3 separate regions of the Homo sapiens genome follow, and all the other regions are linked to region 1. Evidence: promoter capture Hi-C in 16 types of primary human blood cells and fetal thymus (Javierre and others, 2016). All regions are on one chromosome and are shown on one strand. The core of a region is centred on a gene start or on the middle of the fragment in contact, and the rest is flanking DNA. Distances in the headings are between cores, read along the strand shown. Region 1 holds the start of LAMC3 (laminin subunit gamma 3). Region 2 overlaps ASS1 (argininosuccinate synthase 1). Region 3 holds the start of ASS1 (argininosuccinate synthase 1).

Region 1 (4,384 bases), core at 98-2,597:
AAAAATTTTCTTTCTTTCTTTTCTTTCTTTTTTTTTTTTTTGATGGAGTTTCTCTCTTGTTGCCCAGGCTGGAGTGCAATGGCATGATCTCAGTTCACTGCAACTTCTGCCCCCCGGGTTCAAACAATTCTCCTGCCTCAGCCTCCTGAGTAGCTGGGATTACAGGCACGCACCGCCACACCCAGCTAATTTTTGTGTTTTTAGTAGAGACGGGGTTTCACTATGTTGGCCAGGCTGGTCTCGAACTCCTGACCTCAGGTGATCTGCCTTCCTCAACTTCCCAAAATGCTGGGATTATAGGCGAGAGCCACCGCGCCAGGCCAGGAAATTTATTTCTATTTTCCTTAGAGTTCGTCTGGGAATGGCTGCCTTTTTTTTTTTTTTTTTTTCGAGACAGGGTCTGACTCTGTTGGCCAGGCTGGAGTGCAATGGCATGATCACAGCCCACTGCAGCCTAACCTCCCGGGCTCAAGGGATCCTTCCACCTCAGCCTCCCAGGTAGCTGGGACTACAGGCTTGTGCCATGACGCCGGGCTAATTTTTGTATTTTTTTGTAGAGATAGGGTCTCACTATTTTGCCCAGGTTGGTCTCGAACTCCTGGCCTCAAGTTATCCTTCCGCCTCCACCTCCCAAAGTGCTAGGATTACAGGCGTGAGCCACCGCGCACGACCTGGCTGCTAAATTTTATCGAATGACTTCTCTCCCTCGATTTGCTAATGTTAATAAATGGGGAGTAAAGGGGGCATTTATGGGGGTTGGGGCAGAAGACAAGGAAGCCCTCTCTGAGGTGACATTTGTGATAAGACCAGGTACCCTTGTCACAAATGTCAGGTTAGAATCTCTTTGCTGTGGGGACAGAGCGCAGCCGGCAGCAGGAGTGCTTTTCAGGGTTAAGGGCGACAGGAGCTATGCGGAGCCATCTCACAACCCTGTCCAGGGCACACTTTATTGCTAGGAGGAGATGCGCAAACGGTAGCGATCAGTTAGAGATAGATCCTCTTGTCCCCTTTTATCTCAGGACTCCAAGGCACTGCTGAACAGTTTCTGTTTAATGAGCAGCCATTGAAGCCTCCCAATGGCGAGAATGAGCCTGCATCTTTACCGACCCCACTCCACAGACGAGGAAACTGAGGCTCAAAGAGGCCCGGGTCGCCTCTGGGGCAGACTCCCGAGCCGCGCACTGCCGGGCACGTCCAGCAGGTGGGAGTGGGCGCCCGGGGACGGCGCGGTCCCTGGTATTTTTAGTGGGGTGGGGCCGCCGCCGCCCGCCCCTCCCTCCAGCCTCCCCGCCCCGCAGGGGAAGGCGGGTCCTGGCGGCCAGCGCGCGGTCCGCGCCCACCCTAGCCGAGCGGGGCCGGCAGAGCGCGCGGCGTCGGTGCCCTTGACCATGGCGGCGGCTGCGCTTCTGCTGGGGCTGGCGCTGCTGGCACCGCGGGCGGCCGGCGCGGGCATGGGCGCGTGCTATGACGGCGCAGGGCGCCCGCAGCGCTGCCTGCCGGTGTTCGAGAACGCGGCGTTTGGGCGGCTCGCCCAGGCCTCGCACACGTGCGGCAGCCCGCCCGAGGACTTCTGTCCCCACGTGGGCGCCGCGGGCGCGGGGGCTCATTGCCAGCGCTGCGACGCCGCCGACCCCCAGCGCCACCACAACGCCTCCTACCTCACCGACTTCCACAGCCAGGACGAGAGCACCTGGTGGCAGAGCCCGTCCATGGCCTTCGGCGTGCAGTACCCCACCTCGGTCAACATCACCCTCCGCCTAGGTAAGCGCGGGCTGGGGGCACCGCCACCGCACCCCGTGTCCCCACTCCACTGGGGGTCTGAGGCTGAGGCCTGAGCTGCTGTGCGCCCAGGTTGGGCTGCAGGACCCAGATATGGTGTTGGATGGAGGGGCTCAGAAATAGGAATTAGGCTGGGTGCGGTGGCTCACTCCTGAAATCCCAGCACTTTGGGAGGCCGAGATGGGAGGGTCGCTTGAGCCCAGGAGTTCAAGATCAGCCTGGGCAACGTAGTGAGATCCCATCTTTACAAAAAATAAAGAAAAATAGGCCGGGCGCGGTGGCTGACGTCTGTAATCCCAGCACTTTGGGAGGCCGAGGCGGGCGGATCACCTGAGGTCAGGAGTTCGAGACCAGCCTGGCCAACATGGTGAAAACCCGTCTCTACTAAAAATAGAAAATTTGGCCGGGCGTGGTGGTAGGTGCCTGTAGTTCCAGCTACTCAGGAGGCTGGGGCAGGAGAATCGCTTGAACCCGGGAGGTGGAGGTTGCCGTGAGCCGAGGTCGCACCACCGTTCTCCAGCCTGGGCAACAGAGCTAACTCCGTCTCAAAAAAAAAAAAAAAAAAAAAAAAAAGCTGGGCGTGGTGGTGCACACCTATGGTCCCAGCTACTCAAGAGGCTGAGGCAGGAGGATCACTTAAGACTGAGAGGTTGAGGCTGCATGAAATATGATAGTGCCACTGTGCTACAGCCTGGGCTACAGAGTGAGACCTTATCTCTTAATAAAAAGAAAGAATGAAAAAAAGAAGAAAAAAAAACAGGACCTGTACCCCTAGATAGCCAGAAGGATAGACTGAGGGGTGCCCCGTGGGGCGGGAGAGGCAGGGAGTCACTTGCTGAGCTTTGGTTCTAGGTTGCAATTATAATCCCCTGTAATGGTTTTCCATCCTAGACCAGAACTGTTGGGGAGGTGACACACCAAGGACTGAATTGGTCACCCTCTAGGGCAGGGGCTCCTGATCTTGGGTCTTCTGGTCAACTTCAGGTATTCAGTGGACCCCTGAAGCTGCCTGCAGTCCTCGGGTGGGTTCTGGAAGATAGAAGCTGTGATGTTCATCACTGCACAGGCAAAGTTTAACCCTCTGGGGAGGAGGACTAAGTTTCTTCGTGCTGCTGGGCAGCTGCGCCCGGTGGCATGGCCTCTCTGCCCTGCTCATGACTTGCCGAGGTGCAGAAGCCCTTAGATCTCCAGGAATCAGAATCTGGAGTCTGGACCCAGCCCCGGTTCTCAGCCCCTGCCCCCACTGCAGGGAGCTGGAATGCTCTCTCCTCCCTCCGTGTTCAGCCCGATTCCCATGTCCTCTGTGGCCGGGTAAGCGCCAAGTGTCTTTCCTGTTGCAGCCTCCACTGCCCTTTCAGGAGGGGCTGGTATCACTGGTTAGACTCCCTTATCTTCGAGGTCAGCCTCCCAAAGCTTTGAAAACTCAAATTATTTTTATAACTCATTTTTGCTGCTAAACCTGACCTGAGGCTATTTATAAGCTATGTTTATGCTAGTGAGAATGAATATTCATTCGCTTTGCTACTGAAATCTCATTTGAGTACAGCCGGCAGCCCCAGACCCCACTGGGGGTATTAGCACAATATATGGTATAAGGCCTGCATCGTCTTTCTAAAAGCTGAAAAATGTTCAATTCCCAAACACATTTGGAGCCTAGGAGTTTGGATTAGGGATGATGGGACTGTATCCCATGTTTCAGCTGAGAAAATTGAGGCTCAGAGAGGTTGTTTTGCCCAAAGGCACAGAGCTGCTAAGTGAGCATCTGAGCGTGGACATCCATGGACATCAGAGGTCAGAGCATAAACTCTTTGATGTGAGTTCCGCCACCCATCAACTGAGTCAGCTCCACCTCAGCCTGGTGACAGTGTCCTGGGGAGGGCTGGGAAGTGACATTGGAGTGGGGTGCGGGGAGGACCGTGAGCCCGCTCTGCAGAGCACACAGGTACTGGCTGCCACCTCAGAAACTCCCTTCTTCTGGGGCCACGTCACCTTCTCTCAGCCTATCTGGATCACTAGGTGGGGCTTCTGAATGGGACGAGGGGGAGGGGACAGGAAGCCAGTGGGGAGGGGGGAGGCTGGGGGAGCTGTCTGGATGGAGCTGGCAGGACCCCAAGGCCACAGGGGAAGGAATCTGGGACAGGGTGGGGAGTTGTTGGGGAGACACAGTGCTCCATGACAAAGGGTATCACATGTGTCCTGGGAACCCAGGGGCCAAGGAAAGAGCTCAGCCCAGGCACAAACAAGGTGGGAGGAAGTTGGGAGAAATGGCCAAGTTTTTGGATTTGAGGTAGTTCCTGTTTACTGTGCATCTACTGTGTGCCAGGCCCTGTGCTGAGCTGTGCACCCTCGTGGAACTCTGCCTAGAACCTTAGAAGCAGAGTGGTTCTGATCCTTCTAAAAGCAAGGAACCTGAGAGCCTCCACACTGTGAATGTAGAGAGCGAACACACACACACATACACACACACACACACACACACACACACACTCCCTGCTGTGTCTTATCCCGGTGAGCATTCTTCCTGTTTTGTCGCCGAAAACCAGGCATATAGGAGAGAGTCCACAAGTGTGAGTGACAGGGTCACCTCCTCTGTCCTGTGCTCTGG
Region 2 (4,562 bases), core at 1,142-3,641, 540 kb before region 1:
TGGGCCCAGAATGTTTCAGGCAGGTTGGCAGCAGATGCTCTGGCAGAGAGTAAAAGGCAGACCAGGCTCATGGGCACAATGGGGTGTGTGTGTTGGGGGATGGGGACATGCCATGTCCCTCCCCAGCTGACCCTGTCTTTCCTTTCCCCTCCGCAGCTACGAGGCTGGAATCCTGGAGAACCCCAAGGTAATCCCCCAAACCCCATCTCCTCCCAGCTGGCCACCTTTGGTGGTAGCAGCTCCATGCCGATGCTGTCTGATGTATTTATAGCCTAATTTGAAATTTCACGGGGGCCAGCCGTGGGGCTGGGGCCGAGCCCTGCCTGTGTTCCCCGACCCCCGCACTGGCCCCCCTCTGCCCACCGTCTCCTCGCTGCATTTGAAGACCTCCCCCCGCCCTTCCTCTTCTAATTGCCTCTGGGATGAACAGGGGAAGGAAATATCTCAGGGCAGCATAGAGAGAGAGTGTGATTGTGAGACAATAAAGAAGTAATTAGGCAGATGAGACACTTGGGGGAGGGCCCAGCCTGTGCCCACCAGCTCCCAGGCTGTGCTGCTGGAGTTTTGGTTGTGGGGGGTGGGGGGAGGCATGGCTGAGAGCCCTAGGCCCCATTTGTCTGGATCCGTGTTGCACACCCGCCACCACCGGCCACCCTGATCCGGTCCCAAGCTTCCCGGGCGGGCTGGACTGGGCCCTCAGCTCTGTTTGAAGTTTCGGGTTTCTCTCCCGGGGGTAGGGGGCTTCTTTGTGTCTACCCCTGCCCACTGTGGGAGGTGGGGGAGGCAGGGCCAAATCTATCATGGGAAGAGAAAAATCTCTTTGTCCCTGAGGGAATGTGTCTTAGTTCCCGGGCCCAGCCCCACACCCCGGGGAGGCTGGTTTGGAGGCGGGAAAAGTGTGCTTTTTGAGGGGATGCAGCTGGGCCTGGGGGAATCAAGAAGACCAGCTGGAGGGGAGGGTGCCCGGGGAGGTTTGGTGAAATTGGGGAGCGCCAGAGCCCCGCCCAGGATCCCCCAGGGCCCGGGCGTCTGTCACTCTCACGCCCGCGTGCCGCCCCCTGGTCGGTGTTGGCTGTAATATCACATGGCAGCCACCATGTCTGGGGAGCGGGCCGGGGGTGGCATTGTCCTGGCTCAGTTCCTAGGACACTGGCTGGGAGCATCCTCACTTTATGGTTGAGGAAACTGAGGCCCGGGCACCGGCTGCTCAGGGCGAGGGAACGGGCCCTGGGGCTGGTGCCCTCCAGCTCTGTGGCTCCCCTACTGCCCACGGCCCCTCCCTGTCCAAACCTGTCACTCAGGAGAGCTGCCACCCTTGCCCCCTGGGGGCTGATGGCCCCTGTGTGTGGCTGCTGCCTGCTGGTCACAGGTTTTTCTAGTTCATGCTCTGCTGACCCCACAACACTCAGGCCAGCCACCCTAATTAGCCAGTCAGTCAGCTCCAAGGGAGGCAGGGAGGCCGAGCCTGCAGGGTGGCTTCCAGGCAGGGCATCCTCTCAGGCCCGTGGGCCCCAAGCATGCTGGGCAACCACTCCCGGCCATTCTCCAAGCAGCCTATGGCCTCTGCAAGCAGCCTATGGGGGCAGAGAGGAGGCCCCCCCAGAATAGAGGACCTCAGGATTGAGAAAGCAGAGCAAGGCCAGAGGGAAATCACCCCCTCGGACCGTGCAGGAGGGCATCCGGGGCCTGGAGCAGGTTACTGAGCTACGGTGGGCAGGTCCTGCGCCCTCCCAGGCCTCCTGTCTCATGAGGGCATTGGGTGGAGAAGTCAGTACTAAAGAGAATCTGGATTAAGGATCCTGCTACCTCACCCACACTTGGGTCCCAGAGACAGGAAACCCGAGTCTAAATCCCAACTTTTCTTCTTATTGCTGTGCAACCTCGAGCAAGTTACCCAACCTCTCTGAGCCTCCAGTACTCCTTGCCCAAAGTGGGAAAACACAGCACCTCCCTCCTAGGGCATCTAAAGCGCTTGGCCTGTCTCAGGGCAAGCCCTCAGTCATGCAGCTGGGGGTCCCATGCTACCTCTTCATGGGAGGAAGGGTCCAAGGTCCTCTCAGGGACCCCTCTCAAGAAAGGCTGGGCTGGGCTAAGCTGGGTGTGAGTCAGGGGAAACATCGTTCCTGCTGAGAGGCCCGGGGCACCCAGAGTCCCACCCAGGCACCCAGAGTCCCACCCAGGCACCCAGAGTCCAGTCACTCTGGAAAGAAGTTTGCCCCAGCCATGCAGACTCCCCAAGGGCTTTGTGCTGAGGGTGGGGCTCAACGTCAGGACGCACCCTTGCATCCCTGGACCTGGCAGCCCTGTCCCCCTCGGGATGAGCTCAGGGGAACAGAGCCTGGGGAACCCGTGCCCCTCCCCCTCTCCAAAAGAAGCCAGGAGACCTGCGGAAGGGAGGGCTTGAAGGCAGATGGCTGAGCCATTTTCTGCCTCCGTGAGGGCTGATTGAAGGGCAATGAGGCAGCTAATGCGAAGAAAGATAGAAATTTACTTGCTTTAACTTCATACGGTCCACAGTGAAAGAGTTCATTCAGTCGCCGGCCCGCCATAGCTGATGGATGAATAAACCATTTGCGGCATCGATCATGCCTCTACATCATGGTTTAGTTCATGGGCCATTTGCTTCCAATTTCTCCTTCTCGGGGCCTGTTTCATGCTTTCTTTCGCCCTCTCCCCCTAGCCCCCACCCCGACTCTCTCTCTCTCTTTTTCTTCACTCTCTTCCCTCCCCCGCACCCCCCCCCCCCCACAGATGACATTGGAAGTGAGCCCTCCCGCTGGGAGGGATAAATAGATGGCATTGATACTTGGCAACAAACTATTTGTCATTAGAACTGGGCTTTTAGGAAGGAGAGTAAAAAGAAGGCAGGCGCTCGAGCCACCGCGGAATGCAAAGCAAATGTCATTTTATTTCTATTTAGTTATTTTATTTAATCGGCGCTGTCAGGTGCCTGCCCGACAGCTGCCTCTGACTTCCGCTGCGGTCTGCAGAAACTCGTCCTCCAGTCTTCCCATCCCCTCTCCTTCCAAATGCACACACTGTCAGCCTCCACTTCGGTCTGGGGCTCCCTCAGGAAGTGTGGCGGGAGAGAAAGTGACAAGCAACGCATTGAAAACAGTTGACAGTCGGGCCCAGCGCAGGTGGAGGTGGGAGAGAGCTGGGCTTGGGTGGGAGTGGGGCCCTCGTACCGGCACCCTGGTTGGAGGCTTGGGGGAGTCCCAGGCAGCTGGAGATGGGGCTGTGGAGTTGTGTGGTCACCCCAAGATCCAGTCCAGTTCACTTTACCTTTTTGCTGAGGATGAGCCTTGGGACCCGTCTGTGCCCAGGGAATGCTGCAGTTGGCAGGGTGGGCCAGCCCTGATGCCTACCTGTGGCTGTGATGCTGGCTGGCTCTGGCCACAGGCCTCACCCTGTTTCTCAGCCCAGGTTACTACAGCAGCTGGGAACCAGCATAAGGTGGCGGAAAGAGTCCCTGTGTTTAGCTTCCAAAGCATGGTTTGGAGAAGCCACCTCTCAGCCTTGGCTTTCCCTGTGGTCCATAGAGGCATCAGGCTGGGGGTCCCTCAGGGCCCCTCCTACCTCCTGGAGTCTGTCTTCAGGGAAGGTTCTGGGTTCTTGTTCCTGCCCCACAAATGGGCACTGATGCAGGGATACAGCTGGCCCTGAGTCACATCGTACCTTGGAGGTGGGGGTGGAGGATCCACCACAGTCCCTGTCTTAGAAGGATCAATTGTCCTGGTTTGCCCAGGACTAAGAGGTTTCTTGGGACAAAGGACTTTCAGTGCTAAAACCAGGAGAAATCAGGGCACTTGGTCACTCTAACACAGAGCCACAGGCAAATGACCACAGGTGAGCTTCCAAGGCACTTATGTAGCCCCATCCCATGCAGAATGAGGAGGAGGCTGGGCCGAGCATGTACCCCCAGAGTGAATTTCAGCTGCCCTTTCCACCTGCAGAGCATGTTCCCGTTTGTACCAGGCCTTCCCTGACATTTTCCTGTGTGTTTTCATGTCCAATTAAAAAATATATATATACTACTTAAATTGTAAGATGGCCAAGGGCAGGTATCATTTTCCCCATTTTACAGATGAGGAAACTGAGGCTGGAGGAAGTGAAGCTTCCCCAAGGCCCCCCAGCCTGAGCTCTTGATCCTGGCACGGGGTAATGCCCATCACTCTAAAATACAATGTGTATTTGGCGAGGACCTCGCGGGGCTCCTGTCCTGAGTGCCAGGGAACAAGTCCCACGTGGTCTCTGCCTGCACAGAACTCACAGTTGTAGCTCCAGTCCCTCCCGCTCAGCCTCAATTTCTTCATCTGTTGATGGGGTAAGAGCGCTTGACCTTCTTACCAAATGGGGCTGCTGAGAACTCAGACTGCAGATGGGAAGCAATACGTGAATGTGTGCAAGGTGTTTTTTTTTTTTTTTTTTTTGGTGGGGGGGTGGGGGACGGAATCTTGCTCTCTCACCCAGGCTGGAGTGCAGTGGTGCAATCTCGGCTCACTGCAACCTCCGCCTCCCAGGTTCAAGCAATTCTCCTGCCTCAGCCTCCTGAGTAGCTG
Region 3 (4,468 bases), core at 530-3,029, 560 kb before region 1:
CTGGAGTCTGGGCAGGTGCCAGGCTCTGAGAAGACAGGCCAGCAATCAGCCCTGGCCTAAGGGATGAAAGCCGGGCCTTCCCGCGCCGGCTCACCTCGGTTTTCTCATCCTTACTCGGCTACCAGAGGCTATGGTTGGGGAGGGAGGGGGCTCTGGGGGCTGCAGAAGGCCCAGGCTGCCGGCACCGGATAGAAGTGAGCACGAAGCTCCCTGCGCCAGTGGAACTTTTATCCCGGCTCCCACCGCGAAGCGTTTAAATTGCTTCCCCAGGGCCAGGAGGCAAGTCTCTCGAAGGACGGCTGCGGCCACCCTCCGCCCCTGAGTTACATGGGTCGCAGCCACTGCCGCCCTCCTTGGCGCCTCCAGCCCGCGGGCCAGGGCCAGGAACCGCGAGCCGCCTGCGCCCCCGCCGGCGCGCCCCTGGGAGGGTGAGCCGGCGCCGGGCCCAGGCCCGGACCTGGTGGGAGGCGGGGGGAGGTGGGGACGAGGCCTGGGGAGGCGGGCCCCGCCCATCTGCAGGTGGCTGTGAACGCTGAGCGGCTCCAGGCGGGGGCCGGGCCCGGGGGCGGGGTCTGTGGCGCGCGTCCCCGCCACGTGTCCCCGGTCACCGGCCCTGCCCCCGGGCCCTGTGCTTATAACCTGGGATGGGCACCCCTGCCAGTCCTGCTCTGCCGCCTGCCACCGCTGCCCGAGCCCGGTAAGGAGCCCTCGGCCCCTCTCGCTGCCCACTCCCTAGCCGAGAGCACCCGCTTCCCGGGCCCAGAGGAGGAGGCGTAGAAGACGCCCGCCCCGGGGCCCGCGGAGGCAGAGGGCGGACCCCGATCGCCACTCGCCGGGGACTGGGACCGAGGCAGGAGGGAAGGGGCTCCCGATGCTCAAACGCCTGGCACCGGATTCCAGGTTTCTGGAGCGTGGGGGACGCGGCGGGGGCGCGAGTCCCCGGGGGCGCGAGTCCCCGGGTCCGAAGAGCGGCTCGGGTTATTTGTTCCCTGCGCAGCCGGGTCCTTTCTGGACTCCTTGTCGGATCCGGCTTCCTCTGTGTCGTGAAGCCCCCACATGGAGACCTGGGGAGTCCGGAGCGTGTGGGGGGGCTCCCGATTCTCTCTCCCTCTCTCGGACTCGCCGTCTGTCTCCACCTCTATTTCTCTGCGTAAAACCAGGAGTCCAGCCCCTCTGGGGCTTGGACGTATCGCTTTCCCCGCAGCCTCAGTTTACCCTGGACAGATGGGCATGGTGGCCCTGGCTCCCTTCCCTGCAGGGGGCGGCAGCCACCTGGCCCTCCCCGGTGGGGCTGGCGGCCTCGCGGCGGGGTTTCCTGCTGGCCTGGGCTGGGCTCTGTGGGAGGGGCAGTGCCAGGAATATTTTCTATTCGGGCTGCTGTTGCCTTTGGCCCCTGGGCGGCTGCGCCCTCCAGGGAGGCAGGGTCATTGTGAAAGAGAGGAAACTCCTCTCCCAGGCGGCCAGGGCTGTTCCTGAGGAGGGCTGGCCTGGCCTCAGTATTCTTCTCTGAGAAGTGGAGAGTCCACTCCCGAGCAGCCGAGTCAGGCTGCAGGTCTCAGGGCAGGAACAGACCTGTTCTCTCCCCAGGGGTAGATCAAGACCTAGGGGACTTGGGCTTTGATCCTCCCGCTCCCAGCAAGCACAAACCCAGTGATGGGGAGAGCTGGTGAGGCCTTGGCTCAGCCTCCAGATTCCCAAGCTTCCTTTTCATTTTCTTTTCTTTCTAAAAATTTATCAGAGATGTGGACTCGTCATGTTGCCCAGGCTGGCCTCGAGCTCCTGGGCTCAAGCGACCCTCCTCCCTCGGGCCTCCTAAACTGCTAGGATTACAGGCTCGAGCCACCCAAAGTGCCTGGCCCCCAAGCTTCAGTCTGTTAGAGCTGGCTGGGGCTGAGGGCTCAGGAAACATTTGCAGATACTGTGCGGCTGCTAAGGGCTCTGTAGACTGTTGGGTGCTGGGCCTGGGTCCAATTGCACAATAACTGTGCCTGGGGTTAGGTTCTGATGAGAGGGAGGGAGAAGCAGCCACACGGACTGGGAAGCTTGGCTAGGAGCAGGAACTGGAGGAGTCTCCATTCCAAACTCCCTCTCCCTCCCAGACCCCTTAGGCCCAAGGCCTAGGGCGGGGAAGTTTGGGGGTGGGGGCGGGACCCTGTCCTGGCGGGGCCATCTGTGCACCATGCTGAGAAGTAATTCTGGTTCTGCTCTGTGGGGGTGGATCAAGTGAATGAATAGTGACTCCTGCCTGCTGAGCGCCTGGCCGGTGCGGGGGCAGACACGTCGTGAGAGGGAAGGGGAGGCCCCACTCTCAGCACAGTCTCCATTCCTGAGTGCTTGGGAAGCAGGCCCAGGGCCGCAGGAGCCTTGGGGTGGAGCCAGGCCCAAAACAGCCTGCTGCACAAGCGCTTCCCCCTCCCAACCCGGGCCCATCTCATCTTTGGCCTGCTGGGAGGCCAGCCAGGTCAACCAGATGCCTCATCTGAGCACTGACTACACAGTCCCTGAAGTCAGTGGCTTGCCTGTGGGCACCAGGCACCCATGTGGAAAGAGGTAACTTCGCTGGAATTCAGAGTCTAAGGCTCTGATTTCTGATGTAGCTTTGGGCAAAGTTGATCTTCCAGGGCGTGGCTCCCTCCCCAGACTTGGGGTCGACCAGGCACCCATAGGCACTTTGATATGAGTGGAACGAATGAATGAATGTGCCCTTCGTCCATCACCAAAGACAAACCGAGCTCAGCTGAGTTAGAATGTCAGCGAGGGGTTGCAGGGGAATCTTCCACGGGGCAGTAGGCCTGAGCTATAGCACACAGGCTCTCCAGAGAAATAGTGGGCAGGTTGGCCATGACTCACTGGGGGGCTGGTTTTCTGGAAGGTGTGTAGAGTGAAGGGGAGATCTGAGGTCTCCTAGGAGCCAGGGAGTGGAAGGCCTAGTGCAGGGAAGAGCAAGTGGCCTGCAGTCAGGCTGGGTTTGAAGCCGCTAGCTTGTGACCTCGGCTGGCCGCTTAGCCTCTGCCTCCTCCTTTGTAAATAGGTGGTAATGGCAGTCTCCACCTTGAGAGGATGCACCTGTGACTGTGAACATAGTAGCCGCTCTTGTTGTCATTCCAGCTCTGACGTTTTCAAGTAGCACGAGTTTTCCTTAGTGTCAAGTGAGCGCCCAGGCTGGCCTGTTTGCTGGAAGCTGGACAGATGGCTGTGGCTGGGGCCACAGAGAATGCCATCCCAATGAAAGCCAGGTGGCTCTGGTACCTTGACGCGAGGCCACCTTCCCTCCTCCCAGGTGTCTCTTCCGGGGAAGGAGGGCTGGAGGGCAGTGGGCATTTGCCAGGGAGCTGGAGAAACCTGCCGTGGCCCTTTCTGGGGGATGTGGTGGGGGTGGAGCTGGGACTAGGGGAGGCTGAATTCAGCCAGGATCTGCCTGCCAGGCGCAGCTCCCAGGAAGAAAGCCCAATGTCTGGGAGGGTCAGAACCCAGAGGGCTGTCAGGTTGTACAGATGAGGAAATTGAGGCTTAGCAAGCCAGGAACTTGGCTGAGGTCAGCCATAGCAGCGGTGCACAGAGCTTAGTGGGCACATACATGCTTGGTGCCCAGCTCTGGGCTCCTTCCCCCAGCATCTCACCCAATCCTTACAGTCGCCCTGTGGGGAGCAGGCTGTTTGCACCCCTATTTTGCAGCTGAGCAGTTATGCTAGAGAGCTGAAGCCACTCAAACCCATGTCTGGTGGACTTGACCTCTGTCCTGTGCCTGGAGTGAGCGCTCACTGGATTGCAGCTGTGGTTCCTTCTCTCCCTGTCACTTCCTCCCCCGACATCAAACCCTCAGTTTCATTTAGTTTTTGCCTCGGGCTGCAAATGCAGCTTAGGGACCTGCGGAGGCTGAGGGAGGGGGGTGCCCCACCCGCTGCTGGGAGGGCAGGAGCAACGCTGCTGTCTGATTGCATCATTTTCCCAAGCCCATCTGCCCAGCTCATTTCTCTGCATGCATACACTGGCCCCAACACCCACACACGTGTGCATGCACACAGGCACACATGTGCAAGCCCAAACACATCACACACATGCATGCACACACATTGTGTACTCTCAGGTACGCACCCCTGGGTGCACACAGGTGTGTGCGCGCGCACACACACACACACACACACACTGTCTCAGGTACACACGCCAGGTCCATGCATTGCTTCACACTGCCCAGCCCCAGAGGCTGAAGGCCTCAGAGCCCACACCTGCCCAGCTACAACCTGGCAGGCAGGAGGGGCTCACTGGTTTCTTTTGGTTTATTTAAGACAGAGTTTCACTCTGTCACCCAGGCTGGAGTGTGGTGGCACGATCTTGGCTCACTGCAACCTTTACCTCCCAGGTTCAAGCGATTCTCGTGCCTCAGCCTCCCAAGTAGCTGGGACTACAGGTGTGTGCCGCCACACTCAGCTAATTTTTGTATTTTTAGTAGAGACGGGGTTTTGCCACG

The links. Contacts are between HindIII fragments. The CHiCAGO score rates a contact against its expected background, and 5 or more counts as called.
Region 2: a fragment that was not itself captured here is called in contact with the fragment with the promoter of LAMC3 in region 1 in 1 of 17 cell types (M0 macrophages); the score reaches 6.7 in M0 macrophages.
Region 3: a fragment that was not itself captured here is called in contact with the fragment with the promoter of LAMC3 in region 1 in 1 of 17 cell types (M0 macrophages); the score reaches 5.4 in M0 macrophages.

The regions. Positions count from the first base shown.
Region 1 is chr9:131,007,827-131,012,210 of GRCh38, forward strand. LAMC3 (laminin subunit gamma 3) reads left to right here and starts at 1,348. Exons shown (of 28, transcript NM_006059.4): 1 at 1,348-1,761. The coding sequence starts at 1,389. The HindIII fragment of the contact is 4,105 bases long and covers 1-3,190 here.
Region 2 is chr9:130,471,329-130,475,890 of GRCh38, forward strand. It overlaps ASS1 (argininosuccinate synthase 1), which reads left to right. Exons shown (of 15, transcript NM_054012.4): 8 at 157-187. Among named protein-coding and RNA genes, the nearest start is that of ASS1, 29 kb to the left of the region's middle. RefSeq lists enhancers at 1-491, 492-1,228. The HindIII fragment of the contact is 3,447 bases long and covers 669-4,115 here.
Region 3 is chr9:130,444,299-130,448,766 of GRCh38, forward strand. It overlaps ASS1 (argininosuccinate synthase 1), which reads left to right and starts at 663. Exons shown (of 15, transcript NM_054012.4): 1 at 663-697. RefSeq lists a silencer at 466-585 and enhancers at 1,466-2,133, 2,803-3,470. The HindIII fragment of the contact is 165 bases long and covers 1,698-1,862 here.